Linked DNA regions of Homo sapiens: regions 2, 3, 4 and 5 are each linked to region 1. The links are contacts of gene promoters, found by promoter capture Hi-C in human tissues and cell types (Jung and others, 2019). All regions are on one chromosome and are shown on one strand. Each heading gives the region's core, a stretch centred on a gene start or on the middle of the fragment in contact. The rest is flanking DNA. Distances are from core to core; before and after follow the strand shown.

Region 1 (6,062 bases), core at 2,193-4,692:
GACAGTGTGAAATCTGGCTCCCATCATCTGCAATGTTTTTCTTCATTTGCTTAATGCTAGTTTACATGTAGTTTCAGAATTGCTAACTCTTACCCCAGGGAGAAGGGAATTCACCAACTGAAGTACAGTGTTTATGTACAGATTGTTTTGTCTTTAGACTTTAGATATTCAGTCAAAACACTGTTTTCTAAAGTTACCTGGATCCGCATCTCTTTTCCCACGCCTTCAGTGAGGTTATGTTATACGTTTGTAATACAGTTAGGTCTTTTTCTCACAGACTAAATTCTATCCTGGTATTCCCCAACATCCTGGATGATTTTTTTAAAGTTTGCATACAATGAAGTTCCCCCTTTGTGGTGTACGGGTCTACAGATTTTGACAAATTCATGAAGCCATGTTTCTACTACCCCAGTATCATAGAGAACAGTTCCAATGACCTAAAATAAAATAGAATGTGTGTGGTTCCTTTGTAGTCAATTTCTCCTCTAACCCTTGACAATCACTGAACTGTTTTCCATCCCTATAAATTTTGCCTTTTCCATAATGTCGTATATATGGAATTATATATAATACGTATATATAATAGTAATCTTTTGGGTCTGCCTTCTTTTATTTAGCAAAATGCATTTAAGATTCATCCTCATTGTTGCGGGAATCAAATAGCTCATTCCTTTCATTGCTGAGTAGTATTCCATTGTATGGATAGATCATAGTTTTTGAATATATTTGCCTGCTGAAGGTCATCTTTGTTGCTTCCAGTTTTCATTGATTATGAATAAAGCTGCTATAAACATGGGTTAGCTTGTTTTTGTGTGAATGTAAGTTTTTTATTCACTTGAATAAATACATAGGAGTATAATTGTCGGTTTATGTGATAAGTCCATGTTTAATTTTATGAGAAACTGACTAACTGTTTTCCAAAGTGACTGTACCATTTGTATTTCCACCAGTGATAAATTGGAGTTCTTACAGTTCTGTGTCTTCATCATTTGGTTTCATCTAATTGATTTTAGCAATTCTAATTAGTGAGAAGTGATATCTAATTGTGGTTTTATTTACTCTTTCCTGGTGACAATGATATTGATCATCTTTTCATATGCTTGTCATTTGTATATCTTCTTTGAAATGTCTGCTTAAATCATTTGCCCTTTTTTTAATTGGGTTATATGCTTGCTTATAGTTGAATTCTAAGAGTCCTTTATATATTCTGAATACAAGGCTTTCATCTCATCAGACATTGATTTGTAAATATTTCTTCCAATCTGTAGCTAATCTTTTCATTCCCTTAACAGTGTCTTTCAAAGAGCAAAAGTTTTAAATTTTGATCAAATCCAACTAATCAGTTTTTTTTTCTTCCTTTCATGGATTGTGCTTTTGATGTTATATCTAAAATTTCATTGCCAAACCCAAGGTCCTGCAGATTTTTTATATTTAACTTAAAGAATTTCATCGTTTCACACTTTTTACATTTAGGCTTTTGATCCATCTTGAATTAATTTTTGTATGAGATATAAGGTATGTATTCTTCAATATGCCTTATGCCTTGTTTTATTTTTGTTGTTTTCGTTGTTTTGCACATAGACAGTCTTATTTTAGTACCATGTGTTAAATGGAACATCATCTTTCCATTGAATTTAATTTGCATCTTTATAAAAAGCTACTTGACTACATATGTGTAACACTATTTCTAGGCTCTCTATTTTGTTACACTGTCCTATGTGTCTGTTTCCACAAATATCATCCTGTCTTGATTACTACAGCTTTATATTAAGTTCTAAAATCAAGCAATATGAGTCCTTCAATTTTATTATTCTTCTGAATAGTTTTGCCTACTCTAGTCCCTTTGCCTTTTCATATAAGTTTTAGGACCCTCTTATTGATATTTTCTAAACAATTTTTCTGGGAGTTTAAATGGGATTCCACTAAATCTATGTATTAAATCTTAATAATATTGACTCTTCAAATTCATGAATATGGTGTGTCTTTTTCATTTACTCAGGTCTTCTTTAATTTTCCGTCTGTCTTATAGTTGTCAGTATATATATCCTGCACATATTTTGTTAGGTTTAAATTTAAGTACTTCATTTGCATTTGTGTACTATTGTAAATGGATTTTTTTTTATTTCAAACTCTTATTTTCTATTCCTAGTATATAAGATTGTAAATGGCTTTTGTATATTTACGTCATATCTGAAAACTTGCTAAGCAAGCATTTTTGAAAAAGAAAAAGACAATCCGTCTCTATTTTCTCACTGGTAAGATCCCTATTTCAAAGCATTTTGAAAAAGATGTTTGAGGGAAAAACCTATACATTTTCTCATATTATAGACTGTTCACAAGAAGTCCACTAATGGCTTCTAAAGATAAAAAAGACCCTCAAGCAGCTTGAAATAACGAAAGTTGAAATTGAAACTCTGCTGAAAAATTATGTTTCATCTCTAATATTGAGAAATATTGAAACATTTGATAACACAGTGTGCTATCTTCCTGATACAAGCCCATGTGAAAGGCAATTTGGCAAATATCTAGCAAAATTACAAAATTATACCCTTTGATCCAGCAAGATATTCTTGTAAAGTTACAAATGACATATGTACAAAATTACTGGTTGTAATATGTTTACAATAGAAGAATAAAATAAGTGTGCATCAATATGAAATTGGCTAAGTATGCTATGTTGTATCTGTATAATGCAATACTATATGAACTTCAAAATAGATTTCAACAAAACCTTTGCATTATTGGCAGATGGAATTTAAGAAAATATAACGATTAGTTAGGTGCAGCCAACAATAAACTTCTACTTAGATCTACATATTCTAATGAGAATTCATTTCAAATGTGTCACTAAATCTGAACATTGAAATAAATAGACCTTGAAAACAGCCCTTTAGTTATTGATTCACAAAGTGTTAAGCCAAATTTTTCAAAAATAATAAAATCATGTTATTACAAAAATATTTTATTAATAATAATTTGACTATAGCAAATGTGCTGTTAATAAATTTTTAATGTTAATTTCACCTCTATGTCATTAATTTTCAAATTTTAGTTTTATGTATGTTGATAATTTATGTAGCATATTAGTACTGAGGTACAGAAGTATGATTTATAACTCAATGTACATCTAAAGAGGATACATGCTTAACTTTCTTTATTAATGGAATTTGTGATAAAGTTTGCAGACGCCTCAGAGAAGAGCTCTCACTTGGACAGGAGGCCCTGGCCAAGTTGTGTAATGAGGAGGGTTGTTGAGGGGAAAAGACAAAAAACAAGAGGTATTAAGCCCCAGAAGACAGTTATCACCTGCCTCAGAACACAAGCATGCAGGATGATACAGCTTTTAGTGCCAAGAAGTAGAATTCTAGCATCTCTAGGTGGTGAGAAACAAAGGATTAAGAATTTTTCTTTCTCTAACACTCTAAAGAAATGTTCTTGAGCTAGGAAAGGATTACTCGCGCCTCGTTAGAATCAGACATGGCTTCAGGGGATGCAGGACGCTCCCCTGAGCTGCCTGTCACCGACTAAGTGGAGCAGTGTTTCTTCCGCAGACTCAACTGAGAAGTCAGCCTCTGGGGCAGGCACCAGGAATCTGCCTTTTCAGTAAGACCTAAATTACTCTTATGAGAACCAGCAATGGCAGGTTCTTGAAGGATGTAGAACATGATGCTTGGGGTTATCATTGCTGCGGGTTTTCTTTGGACTTGTTTGAGATCAGTAAAATTCTAAGGCAGGGGATGGAAACCAACTCTATTTGTAAGCTCTGTATCTTTTTTTCTTTTTTCTTTTCTTTTTTTTTTTTTTTTTTAGACAGGGTCTCTCACTCTGCTGCCCAGGCTGGAGTGCAGTGTCACAATCATGGCTCACTATGGCCTCAAACTCCCAGCCTCAAGTGATCCTCCCACCTCAGCCTCCCCAGTAGCTGGGACCACAGGCACACACCACCATGCCTGGCTAATTTTTGTATATTTTGTAGAGGCAGGGTCTACCTTTGCTGCCCAGGCTAGTCTCAAACTCCTGGCTTCAAGCAATCTGCTCACCTCAGCCTCCCAAAGTGCTTGGATTACAGGTATCACCCACCATGCCTGGCCTTAGCTCTGCATCTTAAACCTCGTTTGTCTGTCCCTCACAGCTTAACACAGTGCTGTACACAGCGGACTGGCATGCTCTCTCTGAAAAGGGCCAGATAATAATATGTTAGGCTTTGTGGTCTATACGGCCTCAAACACAATTACTGAACTCTGCCACTGTAGTTGGAAATCAGCCACCAATGATATATTACCAAATGGGTGTAGCTATGTTTCAATAAAACTTTACATACAAAAGCGGGCCTGGTTTGCCCACGCTTGCTATTCACGTTTGTAATGTACATGCCCCTCATGCAATGCAGTTCCTTACCTTATTGCTTAGTCACCTTAAAGCCCTGCTTGTTACTTGGTGCGGTGGCCTTGCTGATGACTACTTATCCCTGTTTTGGGCCTAGCCTTTCAATGCAGGAATCCAGCCCCAGGGAGAGAAACTAATGACTGGAGAAGTTTCTAGGCAAGTGCAGAAAATGACACGGGATGAACATATGTAAGAACATCAAGTTCAGGATCCCGAGTAGTTGTCAGAAATTTCACTTCACCCCATCCCAGCAAGGCTGTTGTATTTGGGGAAGACATTATTTCAAGAGGGGAAGAGATTGTGGAAAATCAGTAGGCAGCAGGAGACAGCTCTCTTGATCCTACTCCCATTTCAGATGATTCCGCAGGGGTCTCTTTATTGCCCCTCTGCTCCCCCAGGTGCTTTCCTCCTTTCATGAGGCTTTGTCCTCCATCCCTCTTGCTCCCCAGTCAGGTGCCAGACTTTTAGGAGGCCCCCCGGAGCACTGGTGGTGAAGCTTAGCAAAGCAATGCATTTGCAATCTAAGATAAAACACTCATGTTTTGGGCTGGGCATGGTGGCTCACACCTGTTATCCCAGCACTTTGGGAGGCCGAGGTGGGCAGATCACAAGGTCAGGAGTTTGAAATGAGCCTGACCAACAGTGTGAAACCTCATCTATACTAGAAACACAAAAATTAGCCAGGTGTGGTGGTGGGCGCCTGTAATCCCAGCTACTCAGGAGGCTGAGGCAGGAGAATCGCTTGAACCTGGGAGGCAGAGTTTGGAGTGAGCCCAGATGGCGCCACTGCACTCCAGCCTGGACAACAGAGTGAGATTCCATCTCAAAAAATAAATAAATAAATAAAAGCACTGATACTTTGGAAGCAAAGCTCCCACATTTGGAACTGAATCAAGAAAAGAAAATGAAAGAGTAGGTGCTTAATCTTCACTCTTCGATAAACCCCCAAACAATAACCCTTAAAGTTTTCCATACAGGCCCACGTGTCTTTCATCTGTGGCTGAAATGGGCTGTCTGTTTCTACACATCCAGTTGATCCTTGAACAAATGTAGGGGTCACGGGCACCGACGCCTGCTCAGTTGAAAATCTGCATGTAACTTTTGACTCCCCAGAAACTTAACGACTCCATAGCCTACTGCTGACTGGAAGCCTTACTGATAACATAAATAGCCAATAAACACATATTTTTTATGTTCTATGTCTTCTGTACTGGATTCTTACAATAAAGTAAGCTAGAGAAATGAAATGTTATTCAGAAAAGAATAAGGAAGAGAAGATACATTTACTATTTGTTAAGTGGAAGTGGATCATCATAAAGGGCTTCATCCTGGTTGTCTTCACACTGAGCAGGCTGAGGTGGAGGAGGAAGAGGAGGGGTTGGTCTTGCTGTCTCGGGGTGGCAGAGGCAGAAGAAAATTCACGGATAAATGGACCCACGCAGTTCAAACCCATGTTGTTCAAGGGTCAGCAGTATAGGGAATGTTTCACCCCTGTATTCTATTTTTCATTCATAGAATTAAAATAGAAATCCTAAAAATGCCCCCTGTGGTTTTCACCTGGATGTGTATTAAGGAGGGTTAATTTTTTTGCTTGCTTAACCCTGAGAACACAGCATTGACTTGAAAGTTACTGTATGGAAAAGCATTAAGGAAACAGCCTTCAGTTGCCTTCCTTC
Region 2 (6,062 bases), core at 2,291-4,790, 250 kb before region 1:
CCCCGATTTCCTTAATCTCCAACTCGTCTCTGTCCCACATTATGTATTGTAGGAAAGCTCTAATGTAAGCTACTACTTTTCCAACATTTCCTGTACTGAGCATTTTCCTTTTTCTCTCCTTTTCTGCAGTGTATTCTAAGGACTTGATATCAATTTTATTTCACCTTTCAAAAAAATGGTTTGAGAAAAGAAATGCTAAGAAGTTAAAAATGTATCCCTCAAATTTCCTTTTGCATAGAGAGCTACCCCTTGCTCTGTGGTCCAAAATTGAGATATTTATGTATTTAGTATTTACCAGGCATGGTCCTAAGAATTTTGTATATATTCATTCTCTTAATATTTATCTTCACAGCATTAATAAGTAGTATGCTTGTTCCCATTTTGTAGATGAGAAAACTCAAGCACATAGCACTTAAGTAACTTGGAGAGGGCTACACAGCTAGCGAAAGGCAGAGCATCATGCTGCATCTCTGGATGAAGAGACGTGGGTTTCCGTCTTTCATCCTAGTCCCTACAGGGCCGCCATCTTCAAATCTACCCTTTAAACAGACACAACCTCAAACCCTCCTCCATCAGAATAAAATCCTCAGGAAATTTTACAAATTCATTCTGCCACTTTCCCTTTGGGCTGCAGGCCTGGGCTGCTGCTCTCCCCGTAAAGGGACCTCATCCCTCTGTGCTCTGGTAGCCGTGCTTTCCCATGCTGGACCCACCGTATGCCTTTGGGTGCAAGATAATGTGACCGAGGCCTGAAGGCGGAACACAGGCAGACAGGGACTCTTAGTTTTATCAGCTTCTTGGATGATCCTTTGGGAAATGAAGTTTATAAGCCATGTGTGAACCTCAGTTTCTGGTTCATCTGACTTTGAGACACTTCCCATCTGTTTTGTGTTTAAAATGGGCTTTTCGTTTGTGGAGGAGCTTCACATGAGGGATTATGTTAATGCTTGACATGAAAACATTGCCAAAGGTAAGATCACTCAGATGGGATTCCTTGGAGAATCTATTGAAGTTTGTTGCCTAATCCATAATCTGTTTCCCTAGTGCATAGGCATAATCTTGCCTAGTCCTGCTCCTGGCTCAGGGTCTCCTAGAACTAAAGAAGAAGATTGGCAGGGGTACGGGTATGGTAGGGGAGAGGGAGGGAAGTGGTGGCAAAGTAGAGAAAGGGGATGTGGAGACAGGGAGGCAAGGTAAGGAGAAGAGAATGGTTAAAGGGGAAAGTGTCTCAATGGATCTTGATGCGTCTCCTTGCTTGTGGGGTGTTGGGAAACTTGGACTGTCTACACTGTTCTCAGGCAACAGCCTCAGTTTGATTGATTTTTTTGTTCAATTGCCTCAGCACCACAGAGGGCTCTGCCATGAAGCAGGTCAGCTTCACCACTTCTGTGGAAGGAATGAGGCACGTTTTTGTTCCTTGCATTTCTCCTCCAATCTCTTTGGCTCCCATCCCAACAAAGGTTTTGAAAGATAGAAATTCCTATGTGTGAAGTCAGGGAAACAAAACATGCATAAAATGCTTCAGAGATGCCACATTCATCACTGTTATTAGAGAGCATCTGTAAGCTGGAAGCCTTGAAAAGAGTACTTGAAGGCCAATCCATTACTATTCAAAGAAAAGTATCTTTAATGCAGAGATCTTTGTGCAGAATACCAGGCACCAGCTGGGCTCCATCTCCACCAGAGAACACACGACAAGAGGCAGTGGGGTCAAAAGGCAACATGAAGAATTTGTGTTAAGCATAATATGAATAGACAGTAAAAGTAAAGTCCATTTATGGGTGAAAGAATGTGACAAGTCACCCAGAGCCCAGGGCCTGGAGCCCAAATTTTTTTAAAAGGTTTATCCTGAATATACCTCTGTGGCTCTAGAAATGACCGAAATGTCATTTTAGTTCAATGAATAGTGATTGCTCTACCCCTTCTGACAATCTGGACCCCTGGGCAGTTATTCCACTCAGCCCTAGAGCCCTGGTCACCACAACTGTCTCTCAAGGAAGGTGCAAGAGAAAGCACAAGAGCAGGGTGTTGGTGGTAGTGGTAATGACACTGATGGAGACAGTGGAGGTGTTGATGGAGATGGTGGAGGTGCTGATGGAAATGATAGGGGTACTATTGGAGATGGTGGAGGTGCTGATGGAGACGGTGGAGGTACTGATGGAGGTGGAGGAGGTGCTGTTGGAGATGAAGGAGGTGCTGATGGAGATGGTGGAGAGGTTGATGGAGGTGGAGGAGGTACTGAAGGAGATGGAGGAGGTACTGATGGAGATGGTGGAGATGTTGATGGAGGTGGAGGAGGTGCTGATGGAGATGGTGGAGGTTCTGATGGAGATGGTGGGGGTACTCATGGAGATGGTGAAGGTGCTGATGGAGATGGAGGAGATGCTGATGGAGGTGGTGGAGGTGCTGATGGAGATGGTAGAGGTGCTGATGGAGATGGAGGAGGTCCTGATATGGATAGTGGAGGTACTGATAGAGATGGTGGAGGTGGTGATGGAGATGGTGGAGGTACTGACGGAGATGGTGGAGGTGCTGATTGAGATGGTCAAGGTGCTGATGGAGACGGTGGAGGTTCTGATGGAGTACCAATACAATACAAAGAGTGCCAATTAAAGGGCAGAACTTCATTTTGACAAAGGATGTGGGAAAACTTCAGGGTTGGCATTGGGTTGATGTCACTTCCTTTCTCCATGCCTCAGAGGGTTTGTGTGTGTGTTTATGTAGAAGAGGAAGATATTTATAAAGCTCGTTGCCCATTTTGCAGAGTCATCTTCATTAATTTCAGAGTATGTGTGAGGGAGGCCCATAGCTCAAGTTTGACCTTTTAATCTTCATTCTTGGCTTGTTGGGGATTAAAGATAGACTAGGCTTAACACCAATAGTACCTGCCCTTAACAGGGTTTCTGAGAAGCAAAGTCATTGACGACAGAGTCTCCATATGGTAATGCTACTTCCTCCTTCCAGAAGTTTCACAGAAGCTTTCCTTTCTGACAATGAAAAATAAAATCACCTCAGACATCAGAAATACTTGGCCTTTTATTTTCGTTTTCTCACTTGAAACAGAACCTGAGATACCTTGTTGGACTCAGAGTTCTCCTTGAGTGTGACATTAGGGACTAAGAAAATAAGCAGCAGCTTGATTTTTTAAAGTATAGTTGCCACTGCTGACAGAAGTCAAATTATAACACCAGAAAAGTCTGGTTTTGATTCCTGCCATCTTCCTGGGAGAGTGGGTGGCTTGGTTGATAAAGCTGCACTCTCACTTCTGGAATTGGATTGGGTTCCCAAGCGTAAACACGTCTGCATTTAATTTGGATCTGCTTGTGTATTCCAGTAAGAAACGGGGCTTAACATATGCACTGTAGCTCTGGCTGAAGGGCATTTTAACTGGTTATGGGTCTCCTAAGACACAGGGATTTTAAGCCATTGCTTTTCAAATGTGCAGTCTGATTGTGCACATGCTAAAGGGAGGGGCGGGAGCAGCAGTGCGGGAGATGGCATGTCACACACAGTCATAATAATCGAGCTACATCTAGCCAGATAACGCTCTCTTTGCTTACAAATCTAGGAAATAAGCCAGAAACTTACCAAAGAATAGGAGTGATTACTGATACTGACTAACTAAAAAAATGTCTCCTTCCTCTTCGTTTCTGTTTCTGCCAGATGAAGACAAGGGGATTTATATTCAGAAGTGGCTGTTTCTAGAGGACTCAAAATCTTAGTGTAAACTAATGAAATTCATCATATGAACAGAACTAAGAAGAAAAGTAACATGATTATCTCCAATAATGTTTTAAAAACATGCTTGGCAAGATTTATCGACCATCCATGTTAAAACATAAGAATTGAGAGAAATTTCTTAGCATGATGAAATATGTATATTAATACCTCAGCTCTTGCAGTGAGCCAAGATAGCACCACTGCACTCCAGCCTGGGCAACAGAGCAAGATTCCATCTCAAAAACAAAACAGAACAAAACAAAACAAACAAACAAACAAACAAACAAAAGTCAGTCCAAAGCCTGCATCTTACTTAGTGGGGAAACACCAGAGGCTTTTCCACTAAGTCAGTAACAAGACAAGAGTGGCCACTCTCTCCATTACTATTTAACTCTATGCTGAAGTTATTAGCTAATGCAATTGGATAACAGAAGGCAATTAGAGACACAAATTGAAGAGGAAGAGGTAAAACTATTCCTATTTGTAGATGATATTATTATGTATCTGGAAAACCCAAAAGAATTAATGGAAAATCCACTCTAAAAACTTTAGTACATAGGTAAGGTATAAAATTCACCTACAGAAATCAAAGTTACATGTGTATACACACACATGCATAACTAGTTAGAAAAAGTAATAGAGAATACACCACATTTAAAGTAGCAGAAATACAATACAACTAGACTTAAACTGAATAAGGAATTAGTATTGTTGTAAAACTATTACATATCAATTGCAGGAGAAAGCAGATTAGTCATTTTGTTAGTATTATTACTGCAAATAAAAGAACAGCCCAGTAATGATGAGCACCTCTTGAGCCCAGATTATGAACTCTAATAACCATTTCTTCCTAGGAGGAGGAAAGGTTGATTTTCTGTCTGGGGTTAGCAATATACAACTTGTGCTCAGTGCATCTTATATTATTTATCAAAACCTACTAGAATTGTGTCAAGAGGATATGGGAGAAAATGTGCATAGGAGCCAACTTGAAGGGGCTCTCACTGGCCAAAGACGGCATAATTAGAGAGCCAAGAAGAATAATGACTGCAAAAAAGGAAAGATATCAAATATATAAGAACCCATGTGTTATAACAATACTCTAAAAATGAAACTCATTGATTACCTTTGGAGGTTGTTAAGACAGTAATTTATTATTCTAAAATTTGTATCAGAAAAAAATTGAATATTTATCTTGCCTTTCCTGTAAGGGCTATATTTCAGAACAAATACACAGTTGACAGAAGACATTTCTTCCTTAGAGAAAAATTACTGTGAACAAATGAAGAAGGGCTGATAGAATTTTTAAAAAATCACAATTGTGCAACTGTAATGAAATAATAGATCTAACCAACAATCAGCAATAACAGCTAAGCCATTAAGTGAAATATCAAGGGACAAGTTTCATAATAAATGGGTTTGCTGGCACCTGAACCCACTGATGTATCCTAACATCACTACAGTTGGGAAAGCCAACCATTATGTGCATTCTGATGTGAAGCATTAAGAAGTGCCCAGCACCATCTATGGGACATTTTTTTCTAAACTTTGACCCCAATGTAGCCAAGCCTTTGAATCTAACTTACAGGTTAGCAACATTATGGAGGGTAGAAGAACATGAGCAACAATACCATGAGGAAAAGGGAAACTTCTATTGCACAAATGATCCAGTTTCTTCTACAAAGAAATGGCATGGGAATAAAAGAAAGAGAGACTATTATAGATTTAAAAAGACTTACCAGACATAAGATCAAGTGAAATGTGTATATGTATATTTTTTAAGACAGGGGTTTCCTTCCCGTTCCCAAGGCTGGGGTGCAGTGGTGTGATCTTGGCACACTGCAGCCTTGACTTCCTGAGTTCAAGTGATCCTGACACCTCACACTCCTGAGTAGCTGGGACTACAGGTGTGCAACACTATGCCCTTTTTTGTAATTTTAGTACAGACGGAGTTTCACCATGTTGCACAGGCTGAGCAATGTGCATTTTTATTTGGATTATGATTTGAATAAATCAATTGTAAAAAGATATTTTTAGACAACCAGGAAAACCGGAGTATGACATTATTGAGTAACTACTGTTAATTTTGTGGAGTGTGACAATGGTGTTATAAGGATATGTTTTAGTCTTTATTTGTGAAAGGTAAATATGAAAATATTTATGAGAATTATATAATAAGTGGGATTAATTTAAAATAAAACAACAAAGTTGTGTCAGGAAAAGAGATTCGGATGAAGCAGGTAGAACAGAGCATACATGTATTGAAAGACTGGGCCACAAGAATTCATTATACCATTTTCTCTATTTTTCTCTCTACCTTTGTTGTGTTTGGATATTTACATGTA
Region 3 (6,062 bases), core at 2,273-4,772, 220 kb before region 1:
TTATGGAGAATAAGTTTCAGATTTTATAGGTTGAATCATATAAAATTGAAGGTCTTCAACTATTTTTAACCTATAAAATTGACCATTTTGTATGGGTCAATCTAGGAAATTGGAAGTTCATTGGTTGCTTATAGAAAGGTGATGGAGTAAATTCCACATAAAAATTCCTTTGGCCAATAAGGGCACCTCACCTAAGAAATAGCTCTTAAATATATTATGATATCAGATGTTACAAATATCTTTTTAATTTTTAAAAATACGCTGAATGAATTCAATTAGCAATGTTAGGTCACAGCGTGCTAACAACTTCAGAGTTAAACATAAAATCAAAATTTTAATTTGGAGGCTTTGGGGATTTGGGGGAAAGGGTGGCAGGTGGTGAGGAATAAAAGACTACACGTTAGGTACAATGTACACTGCTTGGGTGATGAGCGCACCAAATTATCAGAAATTACCACCAAAGAACTTATTCATATAACCAAACACCACTTATTCCCCAGAAACCTATTGAAATAAAAAAAAATAAATTTTTGACTGAATATGCAATAGAGAATAAGTTCTACTTATTCTATTTTATGGAATGAAGTGCTGCCCTTCCTACCAAAAAAAAATTTTTTTTTTTCTGAGATGGAGTTTCACTCTTGTTGCCCAGGCTGGAGTGCAATGGTGTGGTCCTGGTTCACTGCAACCTCCGCCTCCCAGGTTCAAGCAATTCTCCTGCCTCAGCCTCCCAAGTAGCTAGGATTACAGGTGCCCATCACCACGCCCAGCTAATTTTTGTATTTTTAGTAGAGACCGGGTTTCAGCACGTTGGCCAGGCTGGTCTTGAACTCCTGACCTCAGGAGATCTGCTTGCCTCGGCCTCCCAAAGTGCTGGGATTACAGGCATAAGCCACCACACCTGGCCCAAAAAATTGTTTTTAAAAAGAGAACAAATTCTGCTCTTCTGAAATTGAGTGAAAGTATGATGAGAGAAATTGAGTGAATGTCTCATAGAGATGCCAAGCTAGGTTTTCTGTTGTTAATTAGATCACTGAAAAATCTCATGCTATAGGATACATTTGAATAATTTTTTCTACCACAAAATGTACAGACAATAAAATAATGGAGTGGTCTACCCACTGCCAGTGTCTAAACTGAACGCTAACTGTAGCAGAAGGATGCTTGTAGCTGAAACCCAATTAAAATATCTTAAAGTATACAGACTTTTCTCTTTTTACATAACCAAAAGTCTGGATGTCTCAACACTGTCATCAAGGACTTGGGTGCTGTCACTCTTTCTACATCTTTAATGTGTTGTCCAGGTCTCTAGGTGTGGCATCTCATGATTGCCAGATAGCTTCTTAGTTCTAGGGTCATGAGCACCCCTCAAGAGTGCCTTGCTGGAGTATGTTCTCACATGCCTTTCAGATATCCCCTGGCCCCACACTTTGGAAATACAGTCAGGCGTGGTGACTCACGCCTCTAATCCCAGCACTTTGGGAGGCCAAGGCGGGCAGATCACCTGAGGTCAGGGGTTCGAGACCAGCCTGGCCAATGTGGTAAAACCCCATCTCTACTAAAAGTACAAAAATTAGCTGGGCATGTGGTGGCACCTGTAATCCCAGCTACTCAGGAGGCTGTGGCAGGAGAATTGCTAGAACCCAGGAGGCAGAGGTTGCAGTGAGTCGAGATTGCGCCATTGCACTCCAGCCTGGGCAACAGAGTGAGACTCTGCTTCCAAAAAACAAAAACAAAAACAAAAACAAAAAACCCCCGAAATACTAGAATGTTAAGGGGACCTAGAAAACTTTGATTATTGACATCACTCAACTTCATCCTTGAAGAATGAGAAAGAGCTCAGCCTCCCTGAAAGGAAGTGACTGTTTAGATAAGGATGAGCAAAACAGAGGTACTGTTAGCAAGAAAGAAATGGGGCAATGCATATTGGAGAGGGACCCTAGAGCATAGGTCTCAATGGCAAAGTCAGTAATAATTAAAATGAATCATCAAAAAAAAGGTGCAAGTGCCCTGCCTTGGATTTTCCGTAACTCAACACCTCTGGATTCAGATCTGATTTCAACTGGAATCCATGTCATGGTGTGGTCTCCCCCACATTGACTCATAACTATAAGCTGAGTTTTGGTGAAGTGAATCTAATTTTCCCTTTGATTTATTTTATGATAAGCTTTCCCCACATTTTCCTGTAGTCTGAATTTAAAACAGTTTGTAAGAGTGTGATTAAGCAATGGATCAAGTCCACAAAATATTGGGCGATATAACACTTCATCCTTCTGGAAGTGCTTTGTAACTGCAGACACTTTTCCTGACTCACTATCTGTCCTCCTTGGGTCGCCACTGTTGTTCAAACTCTGCAAATCTTTGAACTGTCTGACTCCATACTTATCATTTCTGCCCCTGCACTCTCATTCTCTTCTTTTGTCTGAGAGTGGAGAATGTCTGAGAGATTGCATCACAGTCACGTTAACCCTTGGTACTGCACAGCCTAACAGGATAAGAAAGGTTCAGTCTGGATAGGAACTAGAGCAATCAGACATCTATTCATATCTCAACGTCCTTTTGTCTGAAGGATTTTGGTTTTAGAAAATTAATTTGTGCTCTAATGTATCAACTTGGCAAGTTAGAAATCTGTAAACCAAGGTAAACAATATTTTTTGCTCTATAAAATCGTACACGTAGACACCACAGAGTGCAACTTGAAGAGTTAAAAAGTAAAACCCAGTGAGCAGCAAGCAAACTGCCTTTGCTCCCATTTGCCTTAGGGGAGAAAACTTTTCATGGTAGGGATTGCAAAACAACCAACTAAATAACTTTTACATGATTAATGGGGTGAAGGTTAGACTAAAATGTGATGTCTTCCCTCCAAAAATTAGGAAGATTTTAAAAACTCTTTCCTTTATTTAGTACAAGGAAGGCTGCAGTTTTCATTTTATTATTATTTATTTATTTACTTATTTATTTATTTTTGAGATGGAGTTTTGCTCTTGTTGCCCAGGCTGGAGTGCCAATGGCGCGATCTCTGCTCACTGCAACCTCTGCCTCCCGGGTTCAAGCGATTCTCCTGCCTCAGCCTCCTGAGTAGCTGGGATTACAGGCACGTGCCACCATGCCCAGCTAAAGTTTTTAGAAGGAAGAGTGTATTTGCTTTAGAAGAAAATGAATCTAGCCTGGCACAGTGGCTCACACCTGTAATCCCAGCAGTTTGGGAGGCCAAGGCAGGGCGATCGCTTGAGCCCAGGAGTTTGATACCAGCCTGGGCAACATGGTGAGACCCCATCTTTATAAAAAAACGCAGAAATTAGCCGGGCTTGGGGTCACACATGCCTGTAGTCCCAGCTACTTGGGAGGCTGAGGTGGGAGGATCACTTGAGCCCAGGGAGGTTGAGGCTGCAGTGAGCCATGACTGCACCACTGCACTCCAGCCTGGGATATAGAGTGAGACCTTGTCTCTAAATGAAATGAAATGAAATGAAATGAAATGAAATGAAATAAAATAAAATAAAATAAAATAAAATAAGGGAATCTCCAGAATTTCAGTATTTTAGCAGCAAATATCAGGAGTATTAGCCAAATCAATGAAAACTAGGATAAATAACATATGTTTAAATTTTAAGACAAAGTTTTGATTATGGGAATTAAGAAGTCTGTGCTACTAACATATCCTCTGTGATTATAGGAAGGCACATTAAGGTACAAACTCATATCAAAGGAGGAAATAGACAAGTATGGAACAGACATAAAGACAGTTACATAGATGAAGGAAATATTGGGATGTTGATGTAGGAAAAGAACATGGTCCAGGCCTTCTTGATGTATTTTGCAAAGGTTCATAACAAGCATGCTATGCCTTTCTATCATTTGTGGTTACTTAATAAATGGTACATAGTTCATTCTATACATGGTTCAGTTCTTCTAAACTAATTTTTTGTTCTTTATTTAAAAACAAAATTGTAAGTTTGAAAAAAAAAAAGTACAAGTCTTCCAGGGGTGCAGAAATGGGTTGAGGCAAATGATTTTTGTAGCTGAGAATCTGGACCCTCAAGTTGGCAAACAAGCTAGTTGACATCAGATTGGGTGTATACAGGGCCTGCTCTTGTTTGTTTCTGTTCCAAGGTTACACAGATGCACTTATAAACTGACCAAGTAGTGCAGAGGGAGGAGGCCCCCTTTTAAAGATCCTTTTAAAGAAACTGCTTCTATATTGATCCAATTTTTTTAAAAGTGAAGAAAGCGATTATACCTTGGCTGGGTGCAGTGGTTCACACCTGTAATCCCTATGCTTTGGGAGGCTGAAGCAGGAGGATCGCTTGAGTCCAGGAGTTCATTCAAGACCAGCTGGGGCAACATAACGAGACTTCATCTCTATAAATTTTTTTGAAAAAATATAAACAGGTGTGGTGACATGCTTCTGTAGTTCTAGTTATTCAGGAGGCTGAGGCAGGAGGATTACTTGAGCCCAGGAGTTTGAGGTTACAGTGAACTATGATTGTGCCATTGCACTCCAGCCTAGGTGGCAGAGCGATGGCCTGTCTCTAAAGAAAGAAAGAAGAAAACTGTTATACCTGTTTTTTTTTCTTGGGATCCTATGTTTGAATTCATTGCCAACATTTTCTTACCAGGTAGATATAAAGCTTTTACAAGGTTATTCATGGCTATTTGAATACATCCTTTATTTGTTTCTCTATTCCCCTGTCCATCTTCTTCAGTTACACACCCTTCTGATCTCTCTTCTGTCTTGAACCCATGAACCCATGATCCTTTGATGTCTCTCCTTGATCCATGTCCCCACTCCAGATTCCAGAAGCTCATGCTGCCCTTTCACTGATAAAATGTTCCTTTTCAATCTCAACACTGCCATTACCATCCAGACAAAATGAGAATCAAATTTGTAGGAATACAGATATGTAAAGCAGAGATTCTTGGGGAGTTAAAGGGACTTTAAAGACAAATGGCAAATGGGGCGATAACATTTCCAAGCAAAAGGTATTCTTATTATATGAAAAGTTAACACAAATTAGCAAGGATAAGATCGACAACTCAAGGAACAAGTGGGGAAAATCTCTGCCAAAAAGCAGAAAAATTCAATAAGTGTATAGTTAATACTTTCAAGCTCATTTTCAGTCAATGGAATGCAAATGAAAGAGTGACAGCATTTTTTACATATCAGAATGTCAAAGGCTGAAAAGGATTATAATTACTCATGCTGGCAAGAGTGTGATGAAATGAGCATGTCGGGGGCGGCTGTTGGGAGCCTACATGTGTACAAACTTAGCCTGGGGCATTATCAAAGCCTTCAACATGTTTCTGGTCTTTGAAGTAAGAACACTTCCAGGATTTTATCCTAAGGAAATAATTAGGGAAGCATGCAAAAACTTTTCTGTGCCGGGATGTTCTGTGCAATGTTATTTGTAATACTTGAAAAAATGGAATCATTAGCTGCACAATATTAGAAATCTAGTTAAATAATTTATTTTTATAAGAGAATCTAGTTATATAATTTATTTTATATAAAATCACATTGTCAGAGACTTCTTGATTTATGGGGCAGGATCACATTATATTAAGTGAAAATTGATGTGTTTTGTGACAGCGTGAGGTGCGAAAGGCAGAAATGGGTTTTAGAGTCAGATGACAGGTGTTTGAATTCCAACCTTTTCACTGATCGGCAAATTAACTTGGAAAAATTACTTAACCTTTCTGAATCTCAGTTTCCTCATCTGTAAAATGGGGATAATATGTTAACAGGCCTGTTGTAAGGTTTAATTAAGAGATTGTATGTAAAGTGCTTTGCCAAGGACCTAACATGTAGAAAACATTCAATAAATCAACAATGCTATTTAAGTCACCCAAATGTCACTGAGACTCATTAGGCTATCTGTAATATGTAAATGACTCTCATTAACATCAGTATCAATAAATTTATGTCCTTGCCCACCACTTGCTCACACAGGACCTCTGATGCAACTTGTAAAGTACACTCTCCTCTGAATATTTCAGGGAGGCCCCCAAGTACACCTAAATTAGTTTCTTATTTTCACCAATCAGCTTCTGCTACATTGTTT
Region 4 (6,062 bases), core at 1,448-3,947, 160 kb before region 1:
AACCCAGGAGGCAGAGGTTGCAGTGAGCCGAGATCGTGCCACTGCACTCCAGCCTGGCGACAGAATGAGACTCCGTCTCAAAAAGAAAATAATAAAATAAAATAACAAAAAAACCCCACTTTCCTTCCCGTCATAGTATTGTCATGTATGTAGCTTTATGGTCTACTTCTTCACCTTATTCTGAGGATGACTTTAAAACAAGTCCTCGCATACAAGCAGTCTCTAAATGCATTTGCTGTTTAGGAAAACAATGTATCTAGATGGTCCCCTGGCAGAAGAGCTGCAGGAGGAGTAGCTGGGGTCCTGGTGGAAATGCAGAATTGCAGGTTCCACTCCAGACCCACTGATTCAGAATCTGCATTTTGACAAGGTTCCCTGGTGGTTAGTATGTGTGTTAAAGTTGAGAAGCTCTGTTCTAGGACTGTCATTGAAGAGCTGAGAATCACTTGTGTTTCTGAACTTTATGCCTGCATCCAAGCACACATGAGAATAATAAAATGAGATCTGTTTAATTACAATGAATTGTTTATTCATTGGAAATAACGGCCAGTCTTGCAGCTCGACATGATATTTGGGAATTTGGAGATCTGTTTTTCTCTGTGTCTCCCTGTCTCTCTGTCTCCCTCTCTCAATCTCTGTCTCTCCCTCTCTCTTTCTCTTCTCCAGCTCTCTCTCTCTTTCCATTTTTTCTCTATCTCTTTCACCTACATTGACTTTATCGTTTTACTTTTCTATGGAAATGTTGAAACACTTGAGACTTGTTTTTGTTTTTCCCCATCACTTGGAGCTGACCCCTTTCATCTTTGATTCAGCCAATTTCCTTCAAAGCTAAATATTAAACAGATCTGTCTTCTGACAGCTGACCCCAAATAGGGACGAGCAGTGGTCCTGGCCCCAGGGGTGGAGAACTGAGCCGACAAAGGTAGAGGAGAGACAGGATGGAGCCAGTTCCTGTCCGCCAGGGAAGCCCAAAAGTTGTGTCTAAGCCTACACACAGCCAAACAGCCAATAACCAAACAACCGATAGCTTCTGGAAGGCATTCTTGCAGAAATTCCTCTTTTGCCAGAGGGTGAAAGGGTTGCTAATTGATTTTGTCTGCCTTTCAGATGGACTCAGAGAGACACAAAAGTTTTAATTCTAACAGAGAGGTAACATTTTTAGATACTTCACTGTAGAAAAATATTCTGTGTCTCTCATGTGATCTGGAGTTGCATAATGGTATTTTTTGTTTCACCAGCTTGTTATCCTGTTAAGAGAATAGCAGCAGTAAATTTAATTACGTAGATCCTTTTCTAAACAACATATATTTCATAAACATATTATTTATTCATAACAAAGGAATAAAAGAAAGCTAACTCTTCCCAAATGCATTGAGAATCGCTGGTCTCGACTCTCACTGAAGAGATGGGTGAAGATTGCAGTCTTGTGATCTCTGGCCAAGAGATGCCACCTTGTGCCCTCTTTACCGCTTCTGGAGCTTGTGTCTCAGCACAATGTGCTATTGATCTCAAATCCCATATGCTGTATGTCAACAAGTGAAAACAGGGAAGAGACCAGATAGGGAGGTGTGAAAGGAAAATCTCTTGGGCTCCCCAAATCACTAAGCTAAAAGGAAAATTCAAGCTGGGAACTGCTCAGGGCAAACCTGCCTCCCATTCTAGGCAAGTCATCCCTCTGCTCACTGAGATAGATGCATATTCTGATCGCCTCCTTTGGAAAGGCTTATCAGAAACTCAAAAGAATGCAACCATTTGTCTCTCACCTACCTGTGACTCAAAAGCCCCCTCCTTGCTTCGAGTTGCCCCTGCCTTTGTGGACAGAACCAATGTACTTCTTACATACATTGATTAATGTCTCATATCTCCCTAAAATGTGTAAAACTAAACTGTGCTCTGACCACCTTGGGCACATGTCATCAGGACTTCCTGAGGCTGTGTCACCGGCGCAGGTCCTCAGTCTTGGCAAAATAAACTTTCTTTCTTTTTCTTTTTTTTTTTTTTTTGAGACAGAGTCTTGCTCTGTCGCCCAGGGTGGAGTGCAGTGGCATGATTTCAGCTCACTGCAACCTCCGCCTCCCAGGTTCAAGCAATTCACCCGCCTCAGCCTCCCAAGTAGCTGGGATTACAGGTGCGTGTCACCACTCCTAGATAATTTTTGTATTTTTAGTAGAAACGAGATTTCACCATGTTGGTCAGGCTGGTCTTGAACTCCTGACCTCAGGTGATCCATCCACCTCTGCCTCCCAAAGTGCTGGGATTACAGGCATGAGCCACTGCGCCCGGCCCAAAATAAACTGTCTAACTTAACTGGAGACCTGTCTGAAATTTTCAAAGTTCACAGAGGGAAAAAAGAGAAGTGACAGAATACAACTCTAGCCTTATCTTTTCATATCCATAGAGAAAGAGCTCTGTAATGTTATGCAAAATGGCAGAAATGCCAGTTTGTGAAAAGAGACAATTGTTTTAACACACACAAAAAAACCTCCTAGTCATTGGGAATGACCAGAGTTTTTAAGAGAAAAAAGTCACAGAAGTCAGAAAGTCTGCCTATAATCCTGAATCAAAAAATCTGGAGTCAGAATAAAAAGTTGGTCGGGAAGTATTTGCTTACGTAAAAGAAAAACTGTGAAAAACCTAGGAATTTGGGTTCGCAAAGTCTTCTTAAGCCCTGTGATTTCAGTTTTGTTCTTCCTTTCTTGTTATTCTGGATTAGAGTGTTATTCTTGTGATTTTTGAAAAATGAAAAATATGGCCTTATACTCTTGCCTAATACATGATTTCTGGAAATAAGAGGTGAAAAAGTGAGTTCATTTCTTCTTTAGCCCAACCCTAACCAAGTGTGAGCTAAGGAATTCTATATTTTATTTCTATTTATTTATTTTTAAGAGACAGCTTTGCTCTGTTGCCCAGGCTGGAGTGCAGTAGTGGAATCATAGCTCACTGTAACCTCGAACTCCTGGGCTCAAGTGATCCTCGTGCCCTAGCCTCCTGAGTAGCTGGGACTAGAGGTATGCACCACCATACCCGGTTAAATTTAAAAAGTTTTTTTTTTTTTGTAGAGACAGAGTCTGGCTACATTGACCAAGCTGTTCTCAAACTCTTAGCTTCAAAAAATCTTCCCACTTTGGCCTCCCAAAATACTTACAGATAGCTACACTCCTGGCCGGGAATTCTTAATATGTTTGTAACAGAAGGAAGGAAATTAGGGGCATATTGGGTTTTGTTGTTATAGTTTGTCTGTTTTTTTAATTTAAGCTATGCCATAGAGTTTTGTGGACACTATGAAACTTAGGATCATTACTATGTATTTAACAGAGTAAGTGTTCTAACAGCGCAGTGGAGAATAATATTAATAGTTGTGCACCTCATTTCTGGACAAATCTGACAATAAGCTCATTGGATGAGTAGCAAAATCATAATCTCAGAAATTTCTGAAACAGAAGAGCGTACTATCTTTTGGAGAATTAACTTCATTCAGAGCTTTCATTTACATTCTTCTTATGTTTTTATTTTGCCTTTATATATTCTTTTGTAATTTACATATTCCTGTACGATCCTAAAATCTTTCTGAAACAAGCAAGAATATAAATTTATTATTTTGATAAGTGTTAGAAATTAATTTTTACATTTTTTTTTAAGAGACGGAGTCTCACTCTGTTGCCCAGGCTGGAGTGCAGTGGCATGATCTCAGCTCACTGCAACCTCTGCCTCCTGGGTTATAGCAATTCTCCTGTCTCAGCCTCCCGAGTAGGGCGAGGCTAATTTTTTGTATTTTTTTTTTTTTTTTTTTTTTTTAGTTTCATCGTGTTGCCCAGGCTGGTCTCGAACTCCTGAGCTCAGGCGATCCACCTGCCTCGGCCTCCCAGAGTGCTACGATTTCAGGCGTGAGCCACCGCATCAGGCCAATTTTTACCTAATTTTTTAAAACACAAAGTTATTCTTGTAACCATTGGCATTATAACTGTTAGCAAAAAGCAAGGGCTCCTCCTAGTGATACTGCAAGTCAGTGCAGCGTACTAATTCCAGGTGTATTTGTTTTCTTTGTTGTGTAACAAGTTCATTATCTTTAGTAAACACACACTGGAAATCTGTTGAATTCAGGGATCAATAATGAAGATGTGTATTTTAGGGAAACTGCAGTAATTCCTTCAGGCCACTAGGGGCCATTTGACTAAATTCTCTTCCCAGTTCAAAGGAAAGGTCCCCAGTGCACCCCCAGGGAGCAAAAATAAGGACCTCCTCCCATCCTAAGGTGGGATATTCTAAGGGTAGAATCAGGTGCATCATACTCAGCAAATCAGTATTTCTCTAATTTTATTACTTTTTGAAACCTCTTTAAAAGGAAAAAATACATGTGAATTCCCCAGTATTGACATGGGAATGGATTACTGTACAATAGTGATGCATGTATAAAATGATTGCTCTGACCATAATTGTCAACAAAAGTCGGTAGAATGAAAATAAGAAAGCTGATGTCCCTTTCACTACTACCTGCTGTGGTCAAATATTGCTTGCCTACTCTTTATCCTAAAAAAAGAAATGGGGCTAACATCCTACCTCCCACTTCCACCAAACCCTCCATCCAACAGCAATTTGTCCTCTTATGCAAGGTGAGAAGAATTGCCCCAGTTGTTCTGGAAAAAGTGTTCTTTTTTTTTTTTTCCAGACAGAGTCTCGCTCTGTCACCTAGGCTGGAGTGCAGTGGTGCGATCTGGGCTCACTGCAACCTCCACCTCCCAGGGTTAAACGATTCTTCTGCCTCAGACTCCTGAGTAGCTGGGATTACAGGCATGTGCCACCACACTTGGCTAATATTTGTATTTTTAGTAGAGATGGGATTTCACCCTGTTGGCCGGGCTGATCTAGAATTCCTGACCTCAGGTGACCCACCCGCCTCAGCCTCCCAAAGTGCTGGGATTACAGGCATGAACCAGTGCACCCAGCTAGAAAAGGTGCTCTTTTCTTTGTCCTTCCCTGCCTTTGTTCGCTTCCTAAGTGGTACCATTCTTGGCCAGGTACACCATTGTCTCTTTGAAGGTAATTAAACAGATTGTATAAGATGTCATTAAGTTTTATCACAATTGCACACAAGGACAGACTATTGGACACAACCACCTAAGTACATACGTCCTAGATACTTAGGTGGCCATGAAGCACAGGTCAGAGTCAGGCCAAGGTTCAGCTGACTGTAGGAAGGCCTCACCTTCCTTTTGATGCGGTTACAAGATGGTTCATTTGCTACCTTGCAGAAATAGCTTTGAAGAAAAGTACTGTAAGCTGCGTGGTTGTAATTGGATTTAAGTACTGTTGAATATAATATAAAAGTGACGCATCCTCCTAATAATTAAAGTTGTCATCTCCAGGTTTTATTCAACATTTGAATCATGCTCAAACTTGCAGACTTGACTTAAAGCTTAGATGCTTCATCTCCAAAAGAAGCTGGCCATGGAGTACAACAAGGAATCTAGTAGCAGTCTGGAGTTTTCCTCTAGAAAGTGCTGTGGTCTCAAAATGCAGTCCTGGGTATCTGGACACAATCCCACAAAGGGTGACTGCTAAAAAGAAAAGATTTCAGGATTGAGGAACATAGCTCCTTCTTCTAATGCACACTATGTTGGGATGGTGGGATGAAGGCCGAAATTTTCCAGGTTGGAGTCTTTTGGTGGTTTGTTTGCTTATCCTGTATCTGGAGTTGAGAAGAAACCAAGTTTGAGATTTAGGATGTGGACAGGAGGTAGGAGTTTTGCCCATAAATTACAACAGAGTCTGAACCCATGGGGACTGCCAAGAAGACAAAGTGGTCACAATTGGCTTGGGCCCGAAGCCAGGGCCCCTGCAGAGCAGGAGCCCAGTTGGGGCCTCCTCCCAGAGCCAGTGCAGCTCTGCCTGTGCGTGGATGATAAGCTCTGTGCTGCTTCCTCTGAATCATGAAAACAAACAGACCGGGCCACGATGGAATAAATGAAGCTGCAGATGAAAGACATTTTGAAGACGAACATGAATTAGAGGGTTGGAGGGATCTGATTTTGACTTTCACATTCATCTGCCTTCTCCTTTCAGCA
Region 5 (6,062 bases), core at 1,439-3,938, 140 kb before region 1:
GACCTAACTGAGGAATTTTCTATGCATGCATAATCATTCAGCATTAATGTCTCAATCAAGACTTCTTATCTGCTAGTTTTTATGGGCCAGAAGCATAAACCAGCTCTTTTTTTCTTGTTTTTTTGACACAGGGCCTTGCTCTGTCACCCAGGCTGGAGTGCAGTGGTGCGATCTCAGCTCACTGCAGCCTCTGTCTTCTGGGTTCAAATGATTCTCATGCCTCAGCCTCCCAAGTAGCTGGGACTACAGGCGTGCACCACCACGCCAGGCTAGCTTTTGTATTTTTAGTAGAGATGGGGTTTCACCATGTTGCCCAGGCTGGTCTCTAACTCCCGACATCAGGTGATCTGCCCTCCTCAGTCTCCCAAAATGCTGGGATTACAGGCGTGAGCCACTGTGCCTGCCCAACCAGCTCATTCTTTTCTTTTCTAAGAATCAAAGAATAGTAACTGCTGAATTTTTGTTCCTATTGCAAAGGGCTTTACTATTACTTTGTCCCTTATGAAAGTAGATGTGAGATTTTGATTGCGTTTGGGTTCTGAGAGATGACACTTCTGCCAGATTCTTATAAATATTGTCTATTATTATGTGACATTATTATAAGGACTGACTAAGGTGGAAAATTTTGGGTTTCTTTGTTTTTCTGAGTTTGCAACATAAATCTCAACAGGAGAATCACAAAACAACAAATCCAAAAGAGATTAAAAAAAAAATCAGTCTGCTAAGTCTGCTCAGGTTAATGTGTCTTGGCTCATGATGGTACCCAAAGCAGCAGGGTCCAATGAGCAAGAAGCAGAAAATACCAAAGACATCCCCATCTGTATAGGCTTGGAAAATGTCACTGCATGTACCTGACCTTCCACTATTAAGGTAGCTGATTTATCCCTTAGCTAAAGTTGCTCTCTCTTCCTAAAAGATCTTGCTTGTTTTAACTTTGTGGCATTCATGTTGCTGTTCCAGTCCAATCCCAGGATAAACTTCTGAGGTTGCAATGCCAGTTTGGAGAGCAGGACAGCAGCAAATTCCAAGGGAAGCCCTGGGGTTATCGCAAGCTCCAGCCGCCTGAGTTAGGTCACGTTGCCAACTTCAACAGAGCTTGACCTCAAGCTGAACTCCGCATTGCCAGGCTGCAGAGAGCTAAGCCAAGCAGCTATAACAAGTACAGGCCTTCCCAGCCAAGCAGGAGCCCACCTAAAATAAACCTGTAACCTTTCCCCAGAAAATGTTGTGTTTGTTTATAAATAGCCTAACTGCGTAGCCCCTAGAGTTCACTCATGGGAGCAGGAAGAGTCAACTTGTGTTAAACCCTCAGAGCTTCTCAGGTACCCCCCAAACTCCAGGCCTGTACTCACCAAAAATGGATCATTCTCTTCTTGGACTTCCTAGAATCCCAAGACCCAGGGCAGAAAGGAGAATAGCTTCAATTTTCTAGCGGCTAGGAGGAATCTAACTCTATTTTCCCTATGGGTAACAAAGCGCCTGAGTTAAAGTTCGAGATTTGGTATAAAAATGATAGCCACCCTTACCACGTGCCAGGTACTAGCCCATGCATTGCACATAATAACACATTAGCAAACATCAACTCATTTAATCCTCAGAACAACCTTGTAGAAACACTTCTCAAGGCTATTTACAGTCAGCTCTATTCCCAGCTGGGAGAATTCCGGCACAGAAAGGGTGAGTAGCTTTCTCAGCTAACAGGCACTGGAGGCAAGAACTGATCCAGGTATTTTGAACACAGAATTTACACCGTTATATTCATTCTTTGCAAGCCTGGGTGATGGAGCAGAAGGGAATTGGTGTCAGGATCCTAAGTCAGATGTGCCAAGCCCAGGCATCTCCAAATCTTGAAGTCCACAGAAATGGGAGAAAATAGCAAAAGGCACTATAGGATGGATGGGGGTCTCAGCAGAATGAAGGCTAACAGAGCTTAGGAGGGGAGGATCTCCCCCTTCTTCCCCATCCTACCGCCACCCCCAGCCTGCAGGCAGAATTTGATTGTAAAGGAATTCCCATTCAGAGGCTTAGCCTTAATTAGGTTAAATTCCTGGTGACCAGCAATTCCAATCAATCTGACCAGAGAAACCAGCCCTTTCAGTGTGAAGAATACTCTCATCCTTTCCTACTGGCAGGCTGTGAATACTGGCTTCCACCCCAGGCACCCACCACCCACCCACAGGCTCTTTCACAGCAATGCACTAAGCTCTCTCTGCCTGGGCATTCCAGCAGCTGGGATGTTCTACTGGTTGGTGCTTCTCACATCTTCTGTACAAAGAGAGCTGATGTTCCTGAGATTACTTCAATGCCCTTCAAGATCCAGTGAATCCCCAATGCCTATCACAGATTCCATTTTCAATGTAATTTTCAGTTTGTGAGGTCATTTATTATATTTTAGATCTTCCAAAATTGGCATCATATATGACATAAACTAAGTGCAGTAGCCAGATTATTTTTTTAGCCACTCACCCACTAAACGGCTCACTCAAGTAGGAATAGCCCCCACTCAGGAATTAAAGCCTGAAGGATACTGCTTATCAAATTCCGGGACAATGATTCCAAGTATCACTGGGATCAACCAGCATTAGGTACCCACAGATAACAGTGCCTTAACACAGAATTTCTCAAACTTGAAGGTGTATACAAATAACCTGTGGACCTTGTTATCTTATTGCTGTGTTTTGTCGAGAGTTTTTGTATGTGATTACTATTTGAGACAGGATCTGGCTCTGTTGCCCAGGCTGGAATACAGTAGCACGATCATAGCTCATGGTGACTAAGGGCCTTGTTAGAATTCAGGTTCAGATTCAGTGGGTCTGGGGTGGGGCTGAGAATCAGAATTTCTTACAAGTCCCTGGGTGATGCTACGTGGGGAAACTATACTTTAAGGAGCAAGGCCTTGAAAAGTTCATTTATCTTGAGACTCTATGCTCCTGACTGATGTTGTACAAATTGATGCAACATAGAAACTTCCGGAGGGTGTGCTCCTTATTACGGACACCCGTGAAAGAAAGTGAATTTGTCCTGGGCTCTTTGGATGGGACGATCTTTTCAGATCTCAATGGTTTTAAGTTTTTTGACTCTGTGCTTTCCCTTTGCTCAGAAAATATTTCCTATGGGACTGTTTTTCTGTCTTAATATAAGCACCTCTACCTCAAAGGAACTCCTTGTCTCTGAGCTGAAGCTCAATAAAACTTTTTCAGGGCCCTGTGGTTTGGTTATTTCATGTCTTTACATGTGGGTTACAGGATTATGCTGAAAGGGGGGAGGTGAAACAAATGTCTACTCTATTGAAATTGGAACAACGATTGGAACAAGAATTTTAAGCTTTTTGAGGATGGCCACGTCGTCTAACCCCAAATGAACAAACGACGTGAGAGGCAATACAGCAGAGAAGCAAGACTTCAGGCTTTGCAGAAAGAGAGACCCTCATTCAAGTCCAAGTTCTGGAAGCCACAGGAGTTGTCACATGGGGCGAGTTTCCTAAACTTAGTTTCCTTACCCATAAGATAGGTGAAGCTGTCATGAGTAAAAGAGCACTGGCGAGACACGTGGCAAGACAGAGAAGGCAAAACTCATGTTTCCTCTTAACAAACCCTGGATGGATTCCATCAAAGCATCCTGAAACTAAAGGTTGTTAACTGCTGATGACGAGAATCTGACTGCTGGTGTCCTCCAGAAAGCTCCTTTATAGGAAGAAAGCAGAGACTCAGTTGTGGGCTCATTGAGCAGAATTGCATTTGGGTTTTCTCTGCCAGGCATCTCCATCCCTTTTTAGAATCACAGACAATCTGATACTGGTTGCATTCTGCAACATCCACTAGTAGGGATGGTTTATTGCACTGCATAGGAAAAACATTTAGAAGATAACTTTCAAATTTTGTTTTTTGGGAAAACAAAACCCAACATAGTTTTCTCTGTTTAAGTTTCTTGGCTGAGTGCTTATTACTTAGGATATGTTTCCTACTTGACTTTTTTTTTTCCTCTTTCAATATAAGTGTCTCTGCCTCAAGAAGATTGACACAGTTTCCTGCATCCACTCCTTCCTGTAATACCTCTCATCCAGCCATGAAGCAGGATGCTGGTGAAATTTTCACTCATCTTCCAATGCCACCCATCACATCCCACAATGGCAGTAAAAATGGTTGTGCCTTAAGAGCTTTTCTGCCCCAAAGTATACTCCAGATGACACTGAGCAGAAAGGTCTCCAAACGAAGGCCACCAGATCCTCTTACTTTGAAGGCAATTCTCAGCTCATGTCTCATAACCACTGTTGCGCCTTATTCTTGAAGCATCTTGATTTTAGGGGGCGGAAACATGAAACAGACACTTCCTGCTAGAATCCACTGAATAAGCGCTTCCTCAAACATTATTAGGTTGGTGCAAAAGTAATTGTGGTTTTTGCCATTACTTTCAGTGGAATAAAATAGTATATCAGCAAACCACTGCGGAGTCCTGTCTTAGTTTGTTTGGGCTGTTATAACAAAATACCATCAACTGGGTGCCTTGTAAACACCAGAAATGTCTTTCTCATAGTTCTGGAGGCTGGAGTCTGAATCAGGATGCCATCATGGCTGAGCTCTGGTGAGGATCTCCTTCTGGGTTGCAGACTGCTGACTTCTCGTACCCTCACATGGTGGGGAACAGAGAAGGGAGTCAAGCTCTCTCATGACCTTTATAAAAGCACTAATTCCATTCACAAGGGCTCATCCTTACAACCTCATTGAATCCTAATTACCTCCAAAGGTCCTCACCTCCTAATACCGTCACATTAGGTGGTAGGGTTTCAATGCAGAAATTTTGGGAGGACACAACGTTCTGTCCTTTTAAAAGGCACAAGTCCTTTTAAGATGCACATTCTGATACAGTAGATCTGGGGCAAGGCCTGAGATACTAAATTTGCAATCAAATCCCAGATGATACTGATGCTCTGGTCCACAGTCCAGCACGCTGTGAGTAGCAGCACACCAGCACTCTCTCGCCCAATTTAATTGCAAATACTCTAAGGCATCGCTCAAGACCTCTGTGCTTGTGTGTCTCCAACTAGCCAGAAACTTGTTGCACAGTTGTCAACTTTGATCTCCACTTCCTCTAGGTGCCTTGGGCCAGCCTGTTCTGAGTGTCTGAAGGCAGGTCATAACGACTTCACTGTAGTCACCCCAGTAAGAAGACACGGAAACAGGCTATCCTCAGCACAGCTCCCAGGACCAGCTGGATGCTTTGAACTCTAGAGGAGTAAGCCTGATCTCCACAGACCTGAGGATCATAGAATTTTAAAATGGAGAATAATATTAGAAGTAGTGTTATACAAAATCATTTTATAGGAAATCAGGTACAATACTAAGAATAATGAACATTTACTCAGCACTCACTCTATGTTCTTTAATCTTCACAACAGCCTCATGAGATAGGTATAATTATTATGCCCACTTTAAAGGGGATAAAACGGAGACTTGGAGTGGTTAAGTATCTTGCTCGGGAATCACTCATTGTATAAGTGATGCAAACCCAGCTTTGTTTGATTCCACCCTTGTGCTCCTAACTACGATTGAGCAAGGCTTTTAACCAAGAGAAATGGAGCAATTCCCTCTGCAGATACACTGTAATATCCGGGATTGGGATCTGTGTCACTGGACTTATAGTTCTTTCCCTTCTACAGTAAGACAGGTTTATCTTTTTTTTTTTTTTTTTTTTTTTAAACAGAGTTTCGCTCTTGTCGCCAGGCTGGAGTGCAATGGCTCGATCTCGGCTCACTGAAACCTCTGCCTTCCGGGTTCAAGCAATTCTCCAGCCTCAGCCTCCCAAGTAGCTGGGATTACAGGCGCATGCCACCACGCCGGGCTAATTTTTGTATTTTTAGTAGATACGGGGCTTCACCTTGTTGGCCAGGCTGGTCTCAAGCTCCTGACCTCAGGTGATCCACCTGCCTCAGCCTCGCAAAGTGCTGGGATTAAAGCAGACTCATCACTTTGCAGAAACTTTAGCTCCAAGAAGGAGAAAAAAAGGAGAGATTATGATAGTACAGTTAAGGAGTTTTTTTTTCCCCCATTCACCATCCGTGTACA

What was found. Contacts are between HindIII fragments. The study calls those that stand out against the background at their distance.
Region 2: a fragment that was not itself captured here is called in contact with the fragment with the promoter of LYZL1 in region 1 in 2 of the 25 tissues and cell types used here (bladder and mesenchymal stem cells).
Region 3: a fragment that was not itself captured here is called in contact with the fragment with the promoter of LYZL1 in region 1 in 3 of the 25 tissues and cell types used here (heart right ventricle, mesendoderm cells and thymus).
Region 4: a fragment that was not itself captured here is called in contact with the fragment with the promoter of LYZL1 in region 1 in 4 of the 25 tissues and cell types used here (heart left ventricle, mesenchymal stem cells, mesendoderm cells and 1 more).
Region 5: a fragment that was not itself captured here is called in contact with the fragment with the promoter of LYZL1 in region 1 in 2 of the 25 tissues and cell types used here (bladder and mesenchymal stem cells).

Annotation. Positions count from the first base shown.
Region 1 is chr10:29,285,628-29,291,689 of GRCh38, forward strand. It overlaps LYZL1 (lysozyme like 1), which reads left to right and starts at 3,443. Exons shown (of 5, transcript NM_032517.6): 1 at 3,443-3,603. RefSeq lists a silencer at 8-77 and an enhancer at 188-277. The HindIII fragment of the contact is 13,518 bases long and covers 1-5,859 here.
Region 2 is chr10:29,038,412-29,044,473 of GRCh38, forward strand. No RefSeq gene overlaps it. Among named protein-coding and RNA genes, the nearest start is that of C10orf126, 200 kb to the left of the region's middle. The HindIII fragment of the contact is 6,348 bases long and covers 367-6,062 here.
Region 3 is chr10:29,062,124-29,068,185 of GRCh38, forward strand. All of the region lies in intron 2 of LOC107984174 (a long non-coding RNA gene), which reads left to right. Among named protein-coding and RNA genes, the nearest start is that of C10orf126, 220 kb to the left of the region's middle. The HindIII fragment of the contact is 6,112 bases long and covers 467-6,062 here.
Region 4 is chr10:29,126,270-29,132,331 of GRCh38, forward strand. No RefSeq gene overlaps it. Among named protein-coding and RNA genes, the nearest start is that of LYZL1, 160 kb to the right of the region's middle. The HindIII fragment of the contact is 6,825 bases long and covers 1-6,062 here.
Region 5 is chr10:29,149,116-29,155,177 of GRCh38, forward strand. No RefSeq gene overlaps it. Among named protein-coding and RNA genes, the nearest start is that of LYZL1, 140 kb to the right of the region's middle. The HindIII fragment of the contact is 6,554 bases long and covers 1-5,965 here.